Linked DNA regions of Homo sapiens: region 1 is linked to region 2. The links are contacts of gene promoters, found by promoter capture Hi-C in blood cells and fetal thymus (Javierre and others, 2016). All regions are on one chromosome and are shown on one strand. The core of a region is centred on a gene start or on the middle of the fragment in contact, and the rest is flanking DNA. Distances in the headings are between cores, read along the strand shown. Region 1 has its middle 57 kb from the start of LINC03007. Region 2 holds the start of SP8 (Sp8 transcription factor).

What was found. The method cuts DNA at HindIII sites, captures the fragments that hold promoters and counts their contacts. A CHiCAGO score of 5 or more calls a contact.
Region 1: a contact is called between a fragment that was not itself captured here and the fragment with the promoter of SP8 in region 2, in 1 of 17 cell types (total B cells). The highest score is 6.9, in total B cells.

The regions. Positions count from the first base shown.
Region 1 is chr7:25,845,239-25,848,639 of GRCh38, forward strand. No RefSeq gene overlaps it. Among named protein-coding and RNA genes, the nearest start is that of LINC03007, 57 kb to the left of the region's middle. The HindIII fragment of the contact is 2,950 bases long and covers 33-2,982 here.
Region 2 is chr7:20,785,191-20,788,620 of GRCh38, forward strand. SP8 (Sp8 transcription factor) reads right to left here and starts at 1,696. Exons shown (of 2, transcript NM_182700.6): 1 at 1,588-1,696; 2 at 1-605. The coding sequence starts at 1,608. The HindIII fragment of the contact is 6,810 bases long and covers 413-3,430 here.

The DNA.
Region 1 (3,401 bases), core at 258-2,757, 5.1 Mb after region 2:
TGCCCTCTGCAAGCAGAATAGCTGCACAGAAAAGCTTGTCAAGATGTCCTAAATTCAGAGCTCATCCCCAAACATACAATATGCATATGTATGTATGTATACACATGCATATATGTGTGTATAAGTATGTATGTATGAATTACTATGTCTATGAAGGAACAATTTTTATTTCTGAGGCAGCTCTCTAAAGCTGCTTAAGACTGCTGAACTATTTCATCTCTACTCAGCTCTGCTACCTGATAAGATACTAACATCACATGTTTACAGCACACTCCCACTCATCAAACAGAAACTGACCCTGGGGAGGTGTCATATAAAGCGCTACCAACCAACAGACAGGTTCACAGCTCCTCAGCCGACATTGGTAATGAATAACATATTACCCTGGGCCTTGAAGCCCCTTTCAAATCCATTACTGATGACCCTCCCTGTCACTGGGCTGATCTGGAGCTGGTGTTTAATCATAGTCCTGCAGTGACATCAGAGATCTGGCACTGGACTTTGCAGAAGGGCCTGGGGGAGAGGTAATTAATGTTGAGTGCCACTGAGGAACTCCCAAGAGCAGGCATCATGAGCCTCGTCTGCCTTTGAGCAGCCGGCATCCAGGTGAGGTGGTACAATCCGGCCAGCAGCCTGCACTGGAGAGGTTCTGAGGCTGGCTTTGAGCCATTGGGTCCACATGGGCTTGCTGAAGAGATCATCAGCATTTAATCAATCTTCCAAAGGGAAGTTCAACCTGAAGAAGTCAGCCTTCCCTTCAGGCTTCCAGGGCATCTGCTCAATGGCAAAGCAGCTTTAGAAAGAGGGTGCTGACTCTGAGGATGTGTTCCTCCCTCTTCCTTTCCAACAGTCAACGTTGAAGTCAAGATGGCAAAGCAAGAATCCCCTCTGATTGCAAGAAATTGTCAGAAGAAGCTATCCAGTCCTCTGATTGTGGGAATCTGCACCGAGCTGGCTACAGCTCTACAAAGATGAGATTTCCAGGTAACACAGAGTTGAGTTTTGTGTCATCCACATGGGCTGATTTCCCAATTTGGTGACCTGACACATGGCCAAGAGAATAAAGTGATGGGAAAAAAACTCAACTAGAAAATATCAGAGAGAAGAAACATCATGCAGTTTCTTTAAATTGTAGTGAACAAGAGAGTTAACGAAAATCAGCCATTTCATCCCATATGAAAAATAAAATATCTACAGAAAGCCAAAATACTTTTTCCAAACACCATTCTGGAGTCATTTACCACCAACCAACCTTCCAAACAAATCGGTTGTTGATTTGTTTATTTGTTACACAACCAGACACATATGGCTGATGAAAGTAATCAGATGCTGGTGGGGTGAAGACAGAACTCAAAAATAAATTGAACTGAAGAGCTAAACATACTGCAAAAAAGCTCAGGCCTCAGGCACACCTTCCAAGTTGTGTTATTCTATGCTATTCATACCACTTTCCTTATTGATATAAAACAATTTTTGTTTTCTTTTCCAGAAAGAATGCTGCCAATCGCCAGAGGCAGACATGTTTATCAGGCTGTGTATCTTGAAGTCTGACAGAAAATCTGTGGCCTTTGGTACAGCTGAAAAACACTCTGTCAACACCATGGAGAGTGCAAGCCCGTTGTGCTGGCCTCAACCCAAGGAGTGCAGGGGAATGGACAAAAATTTGACTCAAGGCCAAAAATTACAAGAGGAGGGAAAGTCAGACTTGAGGCAAACAAGCCTTTTCCATCGGGTCTGTTTAATATCTCGTGTAAGCATCCAAACCACAAATCGGTCAGTGCTTAGGTGAAAAGACAAGTTTTTCTCCCTTTTGGAAAGCTATTTTGCTTAAGCTCCTATGAATACATCAATTATATTAGCCCTGAGAGTGTCTGTCAGTGCAATGTTAAAAGGTCCACTATTTTTCAGACTGCCCACATCAGAAACAAAATACCCTTCAAACTCTCTGCCCTGAATTGCTTGGGCCAAAGAGAGCTTGAGAGAAAAAGGCATAAACTCCACAACATTGACAGTGAGAAGAGCCACTGGTTTTAAGTAAATTGTAGTCATATTTATCAGCTTAATAAAATCCCCCCAGCACTCGTGTGCCATCAAATTCTTCAATTTCAAATTCAGGAAAAATGGCTCTTTTGTGACAGAAGGTATAAGGCCAAAGGGCAGGTTGTCAGCGAGACCGCCTCCCCTGCAGGCCAGTTGGGCTTGGAGCTTTGGGAAGGCAAGTTTGCAAGAGCCTAGGCCTGTTGCAGAAATACTCTGTCCTCAGCTTTTCCTTCAGGGCCAGGTCCCTGGATTCTTGGATAAGACATTTACAATATGCGGGCACCACACTGAATCAGGACTGTGTGCAGAGAAGCAAACCAGGCCTTTCCACATAGATAGGAAAAAATAATCATAACAGTTCATGGTTATGCAGCTTCCAGTGGACTCCATTGTTACCTGGTAATCATCAGTCAATTGCCATCACCCTTAACCTTAAAGGTGTCACTTTCGTACTTCAGGTATTCTTTCCAAAGTCCCTCTACCCCTTCTTCTCCCTGTCTTATCTGTCCCTGATCTCTGCCACCCTCAGTTGCTTACATTGGCCAACCAGCCTGAAATGGGAGAGGTTGAATCCTTCATGCTATGTGCATAGCCAACATTCCACAAGATTTATGTCACTAAAGCCTGTGAAAATGACAAATGGTGAGAAAGAGGGCCAAAAAGGGAAGCAAAAATAAATCCAACTACGATTTAACAAAGGGCGGCCCAGTATCTGTACCTAGTGGGTACTGTGATATCTTGAGGGACATGAATTTAACAAGAGAAATAAACTGCTGTATGAGGATCTTTAAAATGCTCTTGTTTTCCATTCAAATTCTCTTTAGTAAAGTTGCTTTTTGCCCTGAAGTCATAATCCAATTGTGTCAACGTGGTAATTAAACATCTGGATTGATTAGGTGGGGAAAGGGAGATTATTTTCTAAGATATTTTTTCTAAAAAATAAGCTTAAGAGTAGAAGGGCTCTGGTTTCCCGGAGCTGTCTAGAGTCATGGAAGGAAGGCCGCCAATATGAGGGATGAGGATGGCCACACAGTAGGGTGACTTTTCAATAAAATAACTTTTTTGTTCTTGTCACATTTAGTGAGCTTACTGCAACTACTACCCTACCAAAGTCACTGACTTCAGTAAACCATGGCTCAGCCATATGATGAATCATCCAGATGATCAAAATTATTCTTATGAAGAGCTTTTAACAACAAATACAGATACTTGTGATATAACACTGTGAACAAAAGCAAGATATACAAGGGCATTTGCAGTATAATGACAACTATGAAACCGATCCACATACGAGAACAGCAATACTCCAAAACTTCAAAAGGTGATTAGCTATAGATGGTGGGATTCTAGATGATTTTTGT
Region 2 (3,430 bases), core at 446-2,945:
GGCTTAAACCACGACTCGTACGGGTGCGCCATGCCCACCCGCGGGTAGATGCCCTGCAGCCCGTCCACAGAGGTGTGCACCTTGGAGATGAACACCGGCTGGTGGGAGCCGTCCTGCGAGTGCGCGGAGGAGCCGCCGCCGCCGCCCCCGCCGCCGCCGCCGCTGCCCCCGGAAACTCCGGGGGCCTGGAAAACAGAGTAGTCGTTGGCGAAGGGCGAGCTGGAGGCGGCGGCTGCGGCGGCGGCGGCGGCGGCTGCGGCGCTGCTGGAGGTGAGGGAGAAGGCGCTGGAGCCAGGCGAGCCGCCGCAGCTGAACGAGTCGGACACCAGGGCCGCGGCAGCCGCGGCTGCTGCCGCGGCCGCCGCAGCCGCCGAGGACGAGCCGCCGTTCCTGGAGGCCCCGGACACGCCGAAGCTTGAGAGACTGGAACCCACTACGTTGCAGCTGGCGGAAGAAGAGGACGAGGAGCGTTTCCAGGGGTGGAAGCCTTTGCCGAAGGAAGAAGAGCTGTCCGAGAGGGAGGAGGGAGACGGGCTGGGGCTGCCTATCTTATTACAGGTAGCGGCAAGCATGGCCAGAGGAGTCGATCCCAACCTCGGTTCTTCCTGCGAGGAGGAGAGGAGAAGGAGTGGGGGAGGGGAGGTGGGCAAAGGGCCGGTGGGGGAGGAAAGGAAGAAATGTGCATCAGTCCTTCGGTAGCCTCCAAAGCGCCCCACTGCACCCCATCTCTCGCTGCGGCGCGCCGCCACCAACTCACCTGGCACCCCCAACAGCCCCGGCGCCCGGCCGCTTCCTACTCTACAGGAGGGGACAAGTTTGGCTGCCGGCGTCTGATTCGGGAGCAAGCACCACGCTAAAGAAGAGTTTGACAAGTATTCTCACCTAAAACAACACTCTCTTGCACACAAAGCCCCAGACACTTCGTAACAAACAAGCAAAAAGTCCAGATTGGAGAGGAAGGAAGTTTTCTTTGCCGAGAAGCCTGGGGGAAAACCATTGGATTGCTTTTAAGAGCGCTTCCCTGTAATCCGGAGAGCTTTGAAAAACCTGTTCGGGTCCCCAGAAACCCATCCTGGGTTGTTTCTCCCAGGCCAAAAGAAATCAAACTGTAGGGCTCACTCTTTCTTCCTGCTTTTCTTTCTTTCTTTTTTTAAAAGCATATCTACAGTAGTAAAAACGAGACGAGTTCAACGTACCTGCGAGACAAGGCGGGCTGCAGAATTTTTTTTTAAGGGTTAGGGGAAGAATCTGCACTTTGCCCAGAAGGAAAAACTTGCTCTCTTTACCCCCGAAATCGGTGCCTGTAAAATGGGCTGGACGCAGGTCTCCCGGGCAGGGAGCAGCGAGGCGCTGCGCGGTGGCTTGTCTAAATGCCCTTCGAACCTTTTCCTGCGCTGAAAAAAAGTGACTCTGCCCCCTTCTCCCCCTTTTTCTTTTCTCCAAACTCACTTGTATTTAAAGAAAAAAAAAAAAAGCTCTCAATAGAGAGACTGATAGCCCGTGGCCTGGCCGGGGCGACTTTAACCCCCTCCAATCGGCAATAAAAGGAAACTAATTAAACCAGCAAGAGAAAATCCTGAGACTCACCCCTAGAAGTGAAGTTGCCATCACACAAAAGTGCCCTCCTCCTCTCAGAGGATCTTTTTTATATTGATAAATCAGAGGCAGTGTTTTTTTTAGAGGTGTGCAATACAATGATCAGTTCCGCCCATTCCACCACAATTGTAGCTCCCTCTCCGGCTTTGAAGTGCCGCGGAGGCGCGGCCAGCCAATCTGCGGCCTCGCCGGGCCGCGCGGCGCGCGCGCCGTGAGGTCATCGGCGCCGCCGCCTGCCGCCGTGGTGGAAGGGGGAGTGGGAGCGGAGGGGGCGGGGGCGGCTGCGTGTGTTACAAAGCGCAAAGCGCGCGCTCGCGTGTATGAGTGTGTGTGTAACAATGTAACTGTGTGCGAGTGTGACCAGGCGTAGGAGAGGACAGTGCGGAGACTGGAGGGAGGGGGGATGGGGGTGTGACACCGTAACAGTGACAGTGTGGTAAAGGCGGGGAGTGGAGAGAGTGCAGAAAAGGGAGGGTTGTGTGATAAGATAACTGCGTGTGCGACAAAGCGGGGTAGAGGGACAGAGCAGTTAAGTGTTGGGAAGGGTGTGAGTGTACGGTAGTGTAACTGACAAACCTAGGGAGGGAAGAGGGACTCAACTGGGTGGGGGGTGAGTGTGTTTGGTGTTGGGGGAGAAGGAGGGCTGTGAACATGTGTATTTGTGCGACAGAGAAGAGGGAAGGGTGTGTGTGGGCGCTTGTGTTGTGTGCGCGCACCAAAGCTGGTAGTGGGGAATGGGAACAATGCAATAAAGTGTGTGTTTGTAAGAGAGAGACTGTCGAGCTGAAGAGAGAAACCGACTAAGTTGATGGAGGCTGAGTGAATAAATATTCACAAACGCTGCCCCTGTCGCCAACTTCCTTTGGCTCCTTGTACCTAAAATCTTGAGTGATTTTTTTTTCTTAACTTGGTAAACAGCGTCACTACATTTTTGAAGAAGATCTTTAAACCCACCTTTTCTTTCCCGGCTCTCCAACGAAATAGTAGAAAGGTTGAGAGGCTAAGGGTTATTTTTAGGGATGCGTTGGGACGTGGATGCGCGCCTGCGCGCCCATGAGTTGTTTCTTTGATGCCGTGGCTTTTTTTTTTTTTTTTTTTTTTTTTTTCCCTGAGGTGGAATTCTGCTTTAGAAGTGCACGTCTCACTCTAGGGGAGGAGGTGTGTGTGTCCCGTGGTGTTGAGTAAATTTCAATACAAAAGGATTAGATAGAGAAGAGAGTAAGCGAGGGTCGTTTTTTCTTTGGGTAAGAAATTGAAGAGCGTTTTACGGAATTTAGAAATTTTCACAGAAAACCTCACTGCCTCTTTCTGAGAAAAGAATCAGGACTTTGATCGAAATATATGGGTTCTATTTATCTAAGAATAGAGAGGAGCTTTTGACAAATCTTGGACATTTATCCAGGCGTCAGTGTCTAATGGCGATTGGGCCAGAGATCTGTCTATGAGTGTGTGTGCATGTTAATAGATACACTTAGTTCAAATTCGGTGGGGTTTAGTCATTTGCTTGCCATTTGTGTTATTAGTTGCCTTCAGAAATGCCATTACAATTTCACTGCCACCACAAGGGAACTTAAACCGCAGAAAGCACAACACCAGTGTAGCAAAAAGTCCAGTCTTTGTAGCCCTATTGAATATTCATAAGTTATAAAAACAGTTCATATTTTTAACCAGTTACAAGTGCTCTCAGAAGTCTAATTTTAAAATGGAATTAACTAAAATGTGACTAGCTGGGCGAACTGTTTTGTTTTGACTGGGAAAACATTTTTATTTTACTGTTGTGTTTGAACCCCCCTCAAGGATTTCACAGCTTCTAGGGATGTCAAAAAATCTTCCT